Regions from separate parts of the Homo sapiens genome. Here regions 1 and 3 are each linked to region 2. Evidence: promoter capture Hi-C in 16 types of primary human blood cells and fetal thymus (Javierre and others, 2016). All regions are on one chromosome and are shown on one strand. The core of a region is centred on a gene start or on the middle of the fragment in contact, and the rest is flanking DNA. Distances in the headings are between cores, read along the strand shown.

Region 1 (4,982 bases), core at 209-2,708, 190 kb before region 2:
TACTTGATACAAGCTTGATCAGATGGTCAAGAAGCCAAATTTTCTAAGGAAGAAACACACAGGACTACAAGAATTACCAGAGAAAATGTTAATTAACCTCAGACAACATAATATAGCAGAAAAGATTTATAGTGTTTTTGGCTTGCTCACACTAAAGGCAGCAAGAAAGGGAACAACCCAGTGGCATAAATATAAAATGATAAATGAGCCAAAAAGTATAGATGTTTAGCTCTGATGTGTACCACAATAGTTTAGAAGTAAAATGTACTTTCTTGCTTTTAGCTTAGGCTGACAGAATCTTCTTTGACAAAGTGACAACATTCATTCACTCAGCAAAAATTCTAAGCTCTACATTCCAAGCATTGTGTAGAAAGAAAAATAACCTGGGATTAAAAGTCACTAAAATCACCTACAAAGTATATGCTCTGATAAAATCATACTTCCCTTAACCATATTCTAGTAGTTAGGGAAGTCAAAAGGCATATAAAATGAACTTCTGAATATCCTAGTCTTAGGTACTTAGCCTCGAAATGAGAACTAAGCAATGCTTCAGAACAGCCTAAGTGGTTAGAGTAATGAATGTGAAGCAAAACAAAGCTGGACTGGTAATCATTTCAACTATGTATGTGCACTTCAAAACATCATGTTGTCCACCTTAAATGCATGCATGCATGCACACACACACACACACACACACACACACACACAATCAGACTGGAAACACAGAATAACCAACCAGTTGTGTGACACTGGGTAGCTCACTTCATCTAAATGAGATAGTACCGGGAATATACTAAATTCTCAACAAACTGTAGGTTCTAATAAATTATTCTGAGTGATTTGGATATGGAATATTTCTCAAACCACGTTTCACAGGATATTAACCAGTGGTTAAGGTGGGGAGAAAAACTAGATTTAGAAAAGCCTGAACTAAATATCAAACATGCTGCTTTAATGAATGATTTTTCAGAACCATTAATATGCCATTCCATGTCATAAAAGGGGAAGTGGAGGGATGGAGATAGGGCAACAATTTGGTATGCAATATTTTACCATAATTCTGAACTCCTATTAAATCTCCTGGCACACAGTTTGAGAAACACTGATCTAGACTACTGATTTCCATACTTTTGGTTCCCATAAAGCAGTTCAATTTTCAAATTAAAAAATTGGAAACCTGCAAGGATTGCCAGCTTTTTTATTTTGCCAAGTATAAATATTAAAAAAAAAACCATCTACCATCACCATTTCATTTTAAAAAGTACTATTTTACCATGTACCCACAGAGCAATCAGAGCTTCTGACTGAGAACTCTTCATCGAAATAAAAGTAATACTTGGAATTCTAGCATTGACTTGCCATCAATGACATAGGAGAATTTCACAAGTATGATCTAATTCAACTCACAGCAGGAACATTCAAGTCAGGAAAGATCACATACAAACTGGTTGTTAACAGTAGCCACTGACCATTGGATTAAGAAAACAATTAATTAACTGAATACAACTTTAAAAACAAAAGCAATGTAAATGCAACCTCAAAGCAAACAAAGAATATTTATAAAATAGTTCTAAAAAAAAAATTATCCAGGCCAAGTTTACCTGTTACTGAATCCCAAGTCTTCAAAAAAAAAAAAAATGAAGTTTTAATTTATTCAGTCAACATTACCAGCATTATTGCTTTGTTTGATTTATAAAAGGAAAATTTTGACATTGCTTTGCATTATGTCCTCCATCCTAACATTTTCAAGACTGTTCATCATTATAAGATAAAATATGCACTAATAGTTTGTAACTCATAAAGGAGATTATTTCAGGGGTAAAATTTAAATCCTAGTATGTCAGTGGCTACCACATGATCTATGTGGAAAAACTACAGAAGAAAATTCCCTTACACAAAATCCAAAAATACCCCAGAGCTCAAATCACTAAACCGTAGCTAGCAGGAATAAACACAACTATCTCATTTTACAGACAAGGAAAATGAAGACCCTGAAAGGTTCAATAATTTAACAGCTAAAATAAAACATTTTTTCCCACAGTACTAGAATACAATTTATATATAATTAATTAAAATAAATAAAATCAGCTATAAAAAGGGCTGACAACAGTTGCAAAATGAGGGCTAGTTGTTAGTTCTTACAACAACAATATCTCAGACCTGAAATGGGCAAAAAGGCATTTGCTCTAATCCAGAGATAGCTACATTAATTTAATGTTTAAATGAGATATTAAATTTAAGTCCAGGCACAGTGGCTCACGACTATAATCCCAGCACTTTGGGAAGCTGAGGCGGGTGGATCACTTGAGGTCAGGTGTTCAAGACCAGCCTGGCCAACAGGGTGAAACCCCGTCTCTACTAAAAATACAAAAATTAGCTGGGCATTGTGGCCCACACCTGTAATCCCAGCTGCTCAGGAAGCTGAAGCAGGAGAATCGCTTGAACCCGGGAGGCAGAGGTTTCAGTGAGCTGAGATCGTGCCACTGCACTCCAGCCTGGGCAACAGAGGAAGACTCCATCTCAAAAAAATAAAATAGATAAATAAATAAATAAATATTAAATTTAAAGAAAGCCAAAAGGAGAAGAAAATATTTAAATCCTGATTTTACTACCCATTTTTCTCAACATTTTATTAATCTCCGTACTTCTTCCTGAATATAGCTGATATAGTTTGGATATGTGTCCCCTCTAAATCTCATGTTGAAATTTGATCCCCAATGTTGGAGGTAGGGCCTAGTGGGAGGTATTTAGGTCATGGACGCAGATCCCTCATGAATGTCTTGGTGCAGTCCTTACAGGAATGAGTGATGTGGTTGTTTAAAAGAGTGTGGTACCCCTCCCCTTTCTCTCTTGCCTTGCGGAACACCTGCTTCCCCTTGGCCTTCCACTATGACTGGAAGCTTCCTGAGGTCCCACCAGAAGCAGATGCTGGTGCGAAGCTTCTTGTACTGTCTGCAGAGTAATGAGCTAAGTAAACTTCTTTTGTTTATTTTTTGTTGAGACAGAGTCTTTTTCTGTCGCCCAGGCTGGAGTGCAGTGGCAGGATCTCGGCTCACTGCAACCTCCACCTCCTGGGTTCAAGAATTCTCCTGCCTCAGCCTCCTGAGCAGCTGGGATTACAGGTACGCGCCACTGCGCCCAGCCGTAAACCTCTTTTAAGTTACCCAGCTTCAGTTATTCCTTTATAAGCAACACAAAATGGACTAAGACAACAGCCCAAGTACCTAGAACAGCTCCTGGAATATAGAAGGTACCAATACAGTTACTGAATAAATAAAAATGGACTGCTGTTACTGTTGCATAATCTAGTGCCTGTTATTTTAATGTTATTATCAAATACAAACTAAATTCGAAGTGCTGTACTTCACAAATAGAGTATATGTGTGTGTCCTCAAAGAAAATATCCAGAATCAATCACACTCAGGAATAGAAATAGATATACTTCTGGAAACCTTTTACAGTACTAGTGTTACAGGACGAGATAGACCTATATTATACTGCTAATCTTATTAAAAACCTTAGGAACTCTGAATCTGTCCATCTAATACTGATTGCATATTAAAATAGGATGCTAATATAATATTAAAACAACTTCTCCCTATCCATTCAATCAGCACCTGCACTTGATAGAGAATAATAAACCAACAATTTTAAAGATTAGTAAACTAAGGTTGAAAAATTCAGCAAATTAAACATTTTTATGATTCTCACTTATTAATATTACTTTCAACCACTTTTTTATTGCTACAGATATCTGTAAATATTCATGGGGTACATGTGATATTTTGGTACATGCATATCAAGTCAGGGCATTTAGGGCATCTATCACCTTAAATATTTATCATTTCTATGTGCTGGGAATATCTGAAATCCTCTCATCTAGCTATTTTGAAATATACATTGTTGTTAACTTTAGTCACTCTACTCTGCTATCAAACATCAGAACTTATTCCTTCTATCTAATTTTATGTTTATACCCATTAATCAACCTCTCTTTATCCACATACCTCACCCCCTCTGCCTTCACACACCCTTCCCAGCCTCAGATATCATTCCATTCTCTACCTGCATGAAATCAACTTTTTTAGCTCCCACATATGAGTGGGAATATGCAATATTTGTCTTTCTGTGCCTGGCTTATCTCACTTAACATAATAACCTCCAGTTCCATCCATGTTGCTACAAATGGCACGACTTGATTCTTTCTTATGGCCAAACACTATTCTCTTGCATATATATATATATACCACATTTTCTTTATCCATTCATCCACTGATGGATACTCTGATTCCGTCTTTGCTGCTGTGAATAGTACTACAATGAACATGGAAGTGCAAGTATCCCTTTGATATACTGATTTCTTTTCCTCTGGATAACTACCCAGTAGCGGGATTGCTGGATTGTATGGTAGTTTTCAGTTTTTTTTGAAATATATCCATTCTGTTTTCCATAGTGACCATACTAATTTACATTCTCATCAACAGTGTTTAAGAGTTCCCTTTCTTCCACATTCTGGTCAGCATCTGTTATTTTTGTCTTTTTAATAATGGCCATTCTAACTGGGGTATAATGGTATCTCATTCTGGTTTTGGTTTGCATTTCTCTGATGATTAGTGATGTTAAGCACTGTTTCATATACCTGTTGGCCATTTATATGCCTTCTTTTGAGAAATGTCTAATCATGTCCTCCTTTGCCCAACCATTATTTGGTTTTTTATTATAGTTTCAACAACCCTTTAATCTAAAACATACAAATCAAGACTAGCAGTGAAAATTAATTTGCTGTTTGCCTTTTACATGTTATTAAACAGAAAGTAAATGTACCATTATAAATAGTTTTTGCACTATATCAGCAATCCAAATAACTAATTTTTTTTCAAACCAACGAGGCTAAGATATAAAAATTTCTGTTCCCCAACCTAACTTGTCTTAACTAGGTATGCTAATACCTGTAAACATTTAGCAGTGACCATATTAAGAGA
Region 2 (4,978 bases), core at 62-2,561:
CCTTTGAAGGATGTTCCCAGAGGCCTGTGTCAAGAAAATGAAAATTTTAAAACGCTCTCCAAGAACAGTAAGTGATCAAAGGAGGGCAAGATATTTTAGACAGAAAAGTTCAAAGATGCATTTAGCTGATATTTACCCCTGAGGAAGCTCAAAGCCGAACTTGTACTCATATTTGTTTCCAGGTCTCATGATCACCATCTCATTCTCACCTGAAGGGAAAGAAAATCGAGTAGCCATTAGGCTTGCTGTTACACTTAAAATGCATCTGTGTGATAAGGAATGCTTGGGTGGCATGCAAGGTATTGAAGTACCCCCAATTTCATCCCATATATATATTTTTTAATCCATCCCATATTGTTCTTAAAGAGAAATTCTGATGTATTTTGTCGGGCAGCAAGTTGCCAAGCCCTGCAATACTGAAAGATTCACCCAGGACAGTTCTCTACTAACATCTCAAATAGGAAGTAGACAAAGAATAAGCAACTTATGCACACATAAGACTTTAACTACCCGAGGCAACGCCCCTCAGGATCCCCTTTAGGACACAGCACCATAAAAAATTGTACAAATCACCCTTTTTTTTGGGGGGGGAGGAGAATGTCTGCAAATTAAAACAGAAAAAAGGAAGCAACAACACGTAATTCAAACCACTCAAACTGAGCAACTTAAAACATTTCGTACAGGTTTTGTGTATTCAATTCTCTTCTCTAATCAGCTTTCACCCTCCAACAATGAATTGGGCCGCTTACCTGTTGGCTGGTCTTCCAGAAGAAGCGTGTCTTCATAGCGCAGGTACTCCGAAGTCTGTTTGCACTGCTGGGATCCCTGCATCCAAAGCACTTTAGCCACTCCGCAAGCCAGGATCCTAACGGCTTTGACACGAGTAACTTCACACACCTCCACTATCACCCGGCCAGCCACCTTCTCGCCACTGCCGTACACCTTTTCAGGGTCGTTAAAGACCACCTCAAAAGACTTGATCTTCTTGAACATCACCATGATGGAACTGAGTTGGTTTTAAGAGTTAGAAATGACGGTGGAAGAAAAAAAAAGCTCCAAATCGAGGAAACCCCTTTGCAAAAAATTATTTCACTTTAAGGAATTAAGGTATTCTTAAGCAGTTTGAGCTTAAAAATAAAATAAGATTTAAACAAATGAATATTAACTACTAGGTTTTCGAAAAGGCGCCTAAAAAATATACGCCGCTGGTTACACTAAGCTAATTCAGAGAAAAAGCCTTCTTTCCCCCAATTGCTGGAGAAAAGATCCGATCTCCACAAGCACTCCTTTGGAGAAAAAGAGGGGTTAGTTTCAAGCAGGAGGCGGAAACGTCTCTATATAGTAGCCCGGGCCAGAAGAGCCACGCGAGCGCTGGCCCGGAGGCTCGTGCTGCCCTCGTGCACATCCCTCCCATTGGCTGCCCGGTCCTTGTTTACCAGGAGCCCGACCAATCAGTGAGATCGCTGTGGCGCGTGGACACGGTGTGCTCCTGGCTGGGAAAATGGTTGTTGCGCTCTGGAGCGGCGCAGGGAGGGGGGAAGGAGAGGAAGGAGAGGAAGGAGGGGAAGGAGGGGGCTGTTGAGCGTCTTCTCCCGGGTCCAGTGGAAGGAGGATCCCACTGACCCTAAAACCTAGCCAGGGCGACAGGCCATCGGAGGGCGGGTGTGGACGTTTCTGGTCTGAGAGCGGTGTTTTGAGGTAAAAGGAAAATGTGCTTATGAGGGAATTTCATGCCTAGTCTTAGCCAGTGCAGTTACTTTAGAGCCTGTCGTTATTCCTGGCTCATAAATAGCAAGTGTGTGAAAATCCCATAGCTCCAAGAATACTTTCAGGTTTGGGGCTGTGGAGCGCAGAATGCTTGGTGTTACTGTTCAGGAACAGCCCTTTGTCCTTCTCTTGCCCCGCATCCCTATTAAGTATAAAAAACACCACCGTCTCTGAGGGAAAGGAGAACTTTCAGGCCTCATTGTGTGTGTAGGACCGATGTCTTCTCCTTCCCGTTCCAATCCCTTGGGGCTAGGGCTGGGGGCTGCGTGCCTGTGCTGTTCGTCACCCACCCCCAGCTTGTACCCTCTCTTCTGTTCTCTCTGTTCTGTGGAACGGAAATAGGAGGGGCGTGTTTACATCCTGTTGCTTATCCTGTCATCTCTTCAATTTCTACCTGCAAAGTTGGGGAACACTTTGTCTGTGTTCCCCATTTACCTCATTACCTCTTTAGTGAGGTGTGTCCAGGCGCTCATTATCTCCCACTTCCTACCTGCTTCTGGAGGAAAAGGAAAAGCGGGAAAAAAAGGATGCTTCACTCTTTTCACTTTTTTCCAGTTATGTTCACTCTTTCTTGTCTCCATCCCCTCTTCCAACTCACTAAATCAAATGTACATCCATAAATCTGGTTAAAAGTGAGAAAGTCCTCTTGTTTATATCCAAATTTTCAGTGGAGAGATGGCCACACACCTGTTTGAAGGAACAATTTTAAAAACTATTTTCAAAGGTTTTTCCCTAAACGGTTTAGAAAACAGTAAGAAGGAAAAGAGAAGAAAGATCGGTCAACAGAGCACTATAAATTCAAGCCAGAAGAGACCCTACCCTCTCTCTTCATTCTTTGTTGGTTTCGTTTGGCCAGCTGTCAGATGGATTTTCCCCTGCTGGCTGTGAGATGCTTTAGGAGCTGAGTACTGAGAACTTACTCTTAAATGTAATAGGAAAAACCTGTATGCAAAAGTGCAGGGATTCTTCCTCCTTTTATTTGATTCATAGACCCTTCCTATATCTGTGCTGGGGTATCAGAAGATTATTATTTAATTCCTTGTGCTGGAAAGAGGAAGATAATGTCCCAAGATTGAGATGGGGAGGTAATTAAGAAGCATTCAAGTATATTGAAACCCTACCCAATCAGCAAAAAAAAAACAATATTCATTGCTGTTAAAGAGCCTTCTTCCTTCCTCAGACAGCCTAGCTGGATTGACACTCTAAGGCTAACGAGAGTTACAACTCAACCCCAATATTAAGCAAGCTCAAGAATAGGCATCATGAGTCTCTTCGAAAACACACACATGCATTAAACCCCAGGAACATGTTGATCCTTAGGGTGTGTTTGAGGCGGCACCCTGTTCTAGAAACTTAACCAGCTAGGCTTGAGGTGTTTTCAGTTGGTTAACAATATTGATTGAGTTACTGGGAGCAGAGGAGGTGGAACTCTGACTGAAGTAATTTTTTTTTTAAGGTGGAATCTTGCTCTGTTGCCTAGGCTGGAGTGCAGTGGCCTGACCCCAGCTCACTGCAACCTCTGCCTCCTGGGTTAGAGCGATTCTCCGCCTCAGCCTCCTGAGTACCTGGCATTACAGGCATGCATCACCACGCCCAGCTAATTTTTGTATTTTTAGTAGAGATGGGGTTTCACCATGTTGCCCAAGATGGTCTTGAACTCCTCCTGACCTCAGGTGATCCACCCGCCTTGGCCTCCCAAAGTGCTGGGATTACAGGCGTGAGCCACCGTGCCTGGCCTGACTGAAGTAATTTTAAAAGTTCAAAATTGTGGCTTCTGGGAGAACGTTTAGTTTGATGGGTATGAAAGTGTAACTATCAAACATCAAAATGCTGACAAATATATGAATCAATATTGTTAACTACATAGTCAATATTGTTAAATATTGTTAAATCTTAACTACATACATTTTGAGGGAATAGGAAAGATGGTGGCTAGTGATGGATCAGGGTGGTGGTAATATGGGACATCTTAAGACATCCAACTCTCAACCAGGTTGGAATGCAGTGTCACTTGGCTCACTGAAACCTCCACATCCCAGGCTCAAGTGATTCTCCCACCTCAGCCTCCCGAGTAGCCGGGACTACAGATGTGCTCCACCACGCCTAGGTAATTTTTGTATTTTTGGTAGAGATGGGGTTTCACCATGTTGGCCAGGCTGGTCTCAAACTCCTGCTCAAGCAGTCCGCCTACCTGGCCTCCCAAAGTGCTGGGATTATAGGCACCCTTTTCCCTTTCAATTTATTTGATATTTATGTGGGCACATCTCTGAAGTACTGAATTGCTGAGTTTTAAAAAATCCTATGACAATTCTCTCGTTCTAAGTTTCTCTTCTGGGCTCTGGTTTCCTTGTATCTTCCCATTTGCAGAGCTCACTACAGACTACGTTGCTCTGTGTTATGCCTGGGTTCCTTTAAATGCCAAAAAATTATTTAGCTTTGGCAGCAGCTGCTGCCTACCAGGCCTGTAGCCAAGGCATGTTCTGAAGTGGAGTCCTCCTGGACACGGTTGTTTACGACCTTTCACCTTGTAACCTGGTATTCTGATAAAAACCTGCCCCGATTCTCCTTTCCCAGTTCTTGGGTCTAAGAAGAAAGAAATTTTGTAAACTCTTGTCCTAAAATCAGGGTATAAAAACACTTGTGAGGTTTGGGAAAAGGGGTGGGCCAAGGAGGAACAGCAAAGTAGGGCACAGTCAAAGAGTTTTGCAAGTTGGATCATCTTTATCTGCCCCTTCTCTACCCTCTTCAGTCCCAGTGCCAACAGGAAACCAAGTGGTGATTGTTGTTTGTTTGCTTTACTGCAGGTGACAGAATAAAGCCAGCAGTTTCAGGGAGGGAAGTGCCCTCAGCACTTTGTTGCCAGTCAGAGACAAGACACTGATTGCATTTCTCTTTTCTTTAACCTCTGGCCTGACAAACATTTAGAACATGAAGACTCATAGTTCTTAATGCAGAACAAAGCCCTTTCTTGGTCCTTTTAATCACTTCTCTCACCTCTACTCTGTAAACTTCCCTTTTACCCTTACCCATTTTCCTTTCTCTCTCTCTTTTTTTTTCCACATAGGGTCTCACTCTCAACCAGGTTGGAATGCAGTGTCACTTGGCTCACTGAAACCTCCGCATCCCAGGCTCAAGTGATTCTCCCACCTCAGCCTCCCGAGTAGCTGGGACTACAGATGTGCTCCACCACGCCTAGGTAATTTTTGTATTT
Region 3 (4,966 bases), core at 2,104-4,603, 210 kb before region 2:
GTTGCACAAATGCAAAGTACATTGTTCTGATTATGTGTGCCTGCTTTGCAGCCTCTAATTCTCAGGTAGGTCATCCTGTATAAACTTAGGATGTCCATTTGACCACAGTTCAACTTTGTGTTCCAATTCAGCTGAATAAAAATTAAATTTTTATATCCATCTGTCTGGTGTTCTATGTTTTCTCAGTATGTTCTAGACTCAGGTAAAGGAAGTATGATCGATGATCAACCATCATATATAACTAGACATGCCTAACACAGGATAATAGTTTAATAAATATAATGTAGCCATTAAAGAATATGAAGTCCTAATTTTTTTTTTTTTTTTGGAGACAGGGTCTCACTCTGACACCCAGGCTGGGGTGCAGTGGCACGAGCTCAGCTCACTGCAACCTCTGCCTCCCAGGCTCAAGAGATTCTCCCACCTCCGCTTCTCGAGTAGCTGGGACTACACACATATGCCACTACACCTGGCTTTTTATTTTTATTTTTGTAGACACAGGGTTTTACCATGTTGCCCAGGCTGGTCTTGAACTCCTGGGCTCAAACAATCCGCCTGCCTCCGCCCTCCCAAAGTGCTAGGATTACAGGCATGAGCCACCACGTCCAGCTATAATTCTAATAACTATAGAGAGACAAGTAAAAGGTTTATGACATAATACCAAGTAAATTTTTAGAGGCAGAAATACAATATACTCTTATGACAGCAACTCTAAACAGTTATGAGGTATGCACATGAGAAATGAGAAGTATTTTGCTAAAAAATGCATAAAGCTATAATCAAGTAATGACAATATGGGATATTTCTTTATTTTTTGAAACGGAGTCTCGCTCTGTTGCTCAGGCTAGAGTGCAGTGGCACAATCTCAGCCCACTGCAACCTCCGCCTCCTGGGTTCAAGCGATTCTCCTGCCTCAGCCTCCCGAATAGCTGGGATTACAGGTGCCCGCCACCACACCTGGCTAATTTTTGTATTTTTAGTAAAGACAGGGTTTCATCACATTGGACAGGCTGGTCTGGAACTCCTGACCTCAAGTGATCTGCATGCCCGGCCAATATTTCTCATTTTTAAAAAAGCTTAGGCCCAGGCACGGTGACTCAAGCCCGTAATCCCAGCACTCTGGGAGGCCAAGACGAGAGGATGACCTGAGGTCAGGAGTTCCAGACCAGCCTGGCCAACGTGGTAAAACCCCATCTCTACCAAAAATACAAAAATTAGCCAGGTTTGGCGGCGGGGGCCTGTAATCCAAGCTACTCGGGAGGCTGAGGTGAGAGAATCACTAGAACCCAGGAGGCAGAGGTTGCAGTAAGCCGAGATCGTGCCATTGCACTCCAGCCTGGGCAACAGAGCGAGACCCCGTCTCAAAAAAACAAACAAAAAAGAGCTTAAGGTTGTTATTTTTCAGTAACTATGCCTTAGGACAAAATCTGAAAGGAAATGTATGGAAAAGGGAGCTCTTAGAATAGTGAAACTCGGCCGGGCGCAGTGGCTCACACCTGTAATCCCAGCACTTTGGGAGACCAAGGCGGGCAGATCACGAGGTCAGGAGATCGAGACCATCCTGGCTAACACGGTGAAACCCCGTCTCTACTAAAAATATAAAAAATTAGCCAGGCGTGGTGGCACGCGCCTGTGGTCCCAGCTACTCAGGAGGCTGAGGCAGGATAATCGCTTGAACCCAGAAGGCGGAGGTTGCAGTGAGCCGAGATTGCGCCACTGCACCCCAGCCTGGGCAACAGAGTGAGACTCCGTCTAAAAAAAAAAAAAAAAAAAAAAAAGTGAAACTCAAGATACATATTTTTAAATTTTTTACTGCCACTATAATGCTGCTTATGTAACAAAAACAAATAACAAATTTTATTTAAATACATATAAATCAGCTCAGAGCACCCTGCCCTCTTGTGCATACCTGAGAGCTCTTTTTTCCAGAAAGCCATGTATCTTATTTTCTCCCAATCTGAGGCAGCAGCCAGAGCCACTCTTGCACTGAAGCAATCCATTCAGGTAAGCTGAGACTCTAAGATCAGATGACCCACTGGCACCAGGTCGTGGTCAGAAGTTTGCAAGTAATCAATGAAACCTTCAGGTAGCTATGGGGCTCACTTTCTAGATTACCACCAGGAAGCTTAGTATAGCAATGTCTTCTCTCTACAAACTGCTAGCAATATTTTCAGATTCACTCTCCACCGGCCCTCACACATTATTCAAACACTGCTCCCATGTAACTGGCAACCCTCCCCTACCTTCTCTCTATCCCATTAGTCTCTTATCTCCTACCCCAGTCTCATTTTTTTAAAAAAAAGTCAATACTGATTTTGACAGAAATTTTCTTGGAATAAGCCTCTTCTAATATAGACAGTATTTTAAGAATTCAGCTATCAGTAAATGTTACTTATAGAAAATAACCACTTCATTGTACAAGCAGCTCCAGCTAAAGAAAAATAGAGCAAAACTGAGCATAAGTCTTTGCCGAAATTACCAACTAAAGCAGGGAAAAGAAAAACAACTTTAGTTTCTATATATAATTTTATTTCTAAGTTTTTTCTTCAGGGACATGAGCATAAAACCTTATAGCTTATGAATACTATTTTGAGATAATTTTCACATCTTTGCTTATCTAAATTCCACCTACTCTTCAAGGCTCCAGTGCAAGTTCTAACTTCACTATGAAGTCTTAATAATGGCTAAAATGTATCAAGCACTCACTAGATGGTAGGCACATTGCGGTCTACACACCTAGCATGTATTAACTCATTTAATCCTCGTAACATCCCTATGAGGGAAGGATGATTATTTCCCAATTTACAGACAAGGACAAGAGAGGCACTGAGAGATTCTAAGTAACTTTGCCCAGATTACACAGCCAATAAGTGGCAGACACAGGATTTGAGCTCAGGCAATCTGGTTCCAGAGGCTGTGTTCTTAATCACTGTTATATGACCTCTCCTCAAGACCCTGGCCCACCTTAACTCTTCCTTCTACTATACTTGTTACATATACCCCAGAATAAATTTATTATACTCTGTACACTTTTCCTTTTTTTTTTTTTTTTTGGAGATAAGAGTTTCACTCTTATTGCCCAGGCTGGAGTCCAGTGGTGCAATCTCCGCTCACTGCAACCTCCGCCTTCTGGGTTCAAGCAATTCTCCTGCCTCAGCCTCCCAAGTAGCTGGAATTACAGGCGCCCACCACCATGCCTGGCTAATTTTTTGTATTTTTTAGTAGAGATGGGGTTTCACCATGTTGGCCAGGCTGGTCTTGAACTCCCAACCTCCCGTGATCCACCTGCCTCGGCCTCCCAAAGTGCTGGGATTACAAGCGTAAGCCACCACGCCCAGCCTTCCTTGTTTTCTTAAGTGTTTGCACTTGCTCCACAACAAAATTAAGTTCCTTTCAGGCAAGGCAACCATGACATTTACTTCCTGCCCCTATTTCTAGGAGAGTGCTATGTATGAAACATTCAGTATATACTTTCAGCCAGGCACAGTGACACCTGCCTGTAATCCCAGCTACTAGGGAACCTGAGGTGGGAGGATCACTTAAGCTCAGAAGTTCGAGTCCAGCCTGGGCAATAAGGCCCCATCTCTTAAAAACACACACACACACACTTCTTAGCTAATTTATTAAAAATCCCTGGCAACATCTAAAGAACACGAAGTTACAAGCTATGAATCAGCAAAAATACTTTAACACCTGAAGGATAACTCATGCCATCAGTGTTGGATTTAGCATTACTAAAGTTAGGAAACTGACTACATATATTTGTTTTTCTTCTTACTCAATGCATCTCTTTCTGGTGAGTCATACCTACAAAATTGGCAGACCGATCTATTTCCATTACCTAAAAGAGAACACTAAAGAAAAATCAAATGAAATTTCTTCTTCTGCATATGCCTAATCAGTAAGTGACAATCTGTGTTATCACAAATAGCACACACAAGAGGAAAGAATACTGAAATCATAAAGGCTTCCAGGACTGGCAAACAGAATACATTTTATTGTATTTTACTTTTTTGAGATGGAGTCTCGCTCTGTCACCCAGGCTGGAGTGCAGTAGTGCGATCTCGACTCACCTCAACCTCTGCCTCCCGGGTTCAAGCGATTCTCGTGTCTCAGCCTACCATGTAGCTAGGATTACAGGCTCATGCCACCATGCCCAGCTAATTTATTGTATTTTTAGTAGAGATGGGGTTTCACCATGTTGGCTAGGCTGGTCTCGAACTCCAGACCTCAGGTGATCTGCTCACCTCGGCCTCCCAAAGTGTTGCGATTACAGGCGTGAGCCACTGTGCCTGGCCCAGAACACATATTAAATAATGTTTTTCAATCCATTAAAATGGGAAAATAAAAATGCAAGTTCAAAACACGATCTGTCTGGAATCACTCTAATCAACCCGGGCAGTTCAGAGTTAACCAAAACTCTTAATACTGTATATTAAGAAGTAGCACAGACCATAAGCAGAAAAACCACCCTAAATAGAACAGGACCATTACCCAGACAATGTTGATAAATCTAACAACATCAAAATGTGGGGGCTACAGGTCTTAAAATAATTTTCAAATAATAAGGGAGAGAAGCTTAGGGTTTTACAGGCTTCTTATTAAATATCACTTTTCAAATATACTACTAGTACAATTTCAATTTACATACAAAACAGTGAAATATTTTGCTATCTCTCTAGGCACTTCGGCTATCTCTGGAAAAGGCTAATGTGATCCTAAAACATAAAGAAATCCTGATTATGGGATTTAACTTATTTCTTCCTTTTAGCATCTGTCAGCTTTCTAGAGCTGAACAAGTTGTATGGCAATATAGGGTACACATACAAACAAGCAAAAGAAAAACGTCAGTGTTTTTTATAGGCTGACTGGTACCTTCTGGGTTGTAGTCTCTAAATGATTAAAAACAAAGAGTATTAATGCCACTGAATTATACACTTAAGAACAGTTACAATGGTTTCTTTTT

What was found. The method cuts DNA at HindIII sites, captures the fragments that hold promoters and counts their contacts. A CHiCAGO score of 5 or more calls a contact.
Region 1: a fragment that was not itself captured here is called in contact with the fragment with the promoter of TXNIP in region 2 in 3 of 17 cell types (naive CD4 T cells, endothelial precursors and erythroblasts); the score reaches 5.3 in naive CD4 T cells.
Region 3: a fragment that was not itself captured here is called in contact with the fragment with the promoter of TXNIP in region 2 in 3 of 17 cell types (endothelial precursors, naive CD4 T cells and activated CD4 T cells); the score reaches 5.8 in endothelial precursors.

The regions. Positions count from the first base shown.
Region 1 is chr1:145,803,826-145,808,807 of GRCh38, forward strand. All of the region lies in intron 1 of RNF115 (ring finger protein 115), which reads right to left. Among named protein-coding and RNA genes, the nearest start is that of RNF115, 18 kb to the right of the region's middle. RefSeq lists an enhancer at 1,159-1,667. The HindIII fragment of the contact is 2,887 bases long and covers 16-2,902 here.
Region 2 is chr1:145,995,268-146,000,245 of GRCh38, forward strand. It overlaps TXNIP (thioredoxin interacting protein), which reads right to left and starts at 1,312. Exons shown (of 8, transcript NM_006472.6): 1 at 750-1,312; 2 at 137-209; 3 at 1-24. The coding sequence starts at 999. The HindIII fragment of the contact is 13,533 bases long and covers 1-4,978 here.
Region 3 is chr1:145,778,865-145,783,830 of GRCh38, forward strand. The region is part of intron 3 of RNF115 (ring finger protein 115); the gene reads right to left. Among named protein-coding and RNA genes, the nearest start is that of RNF115, 43 kb to the right of the region's middle. The HindIII fragment of the contact is 2,453 bases long and covers 2,128-4,580 here.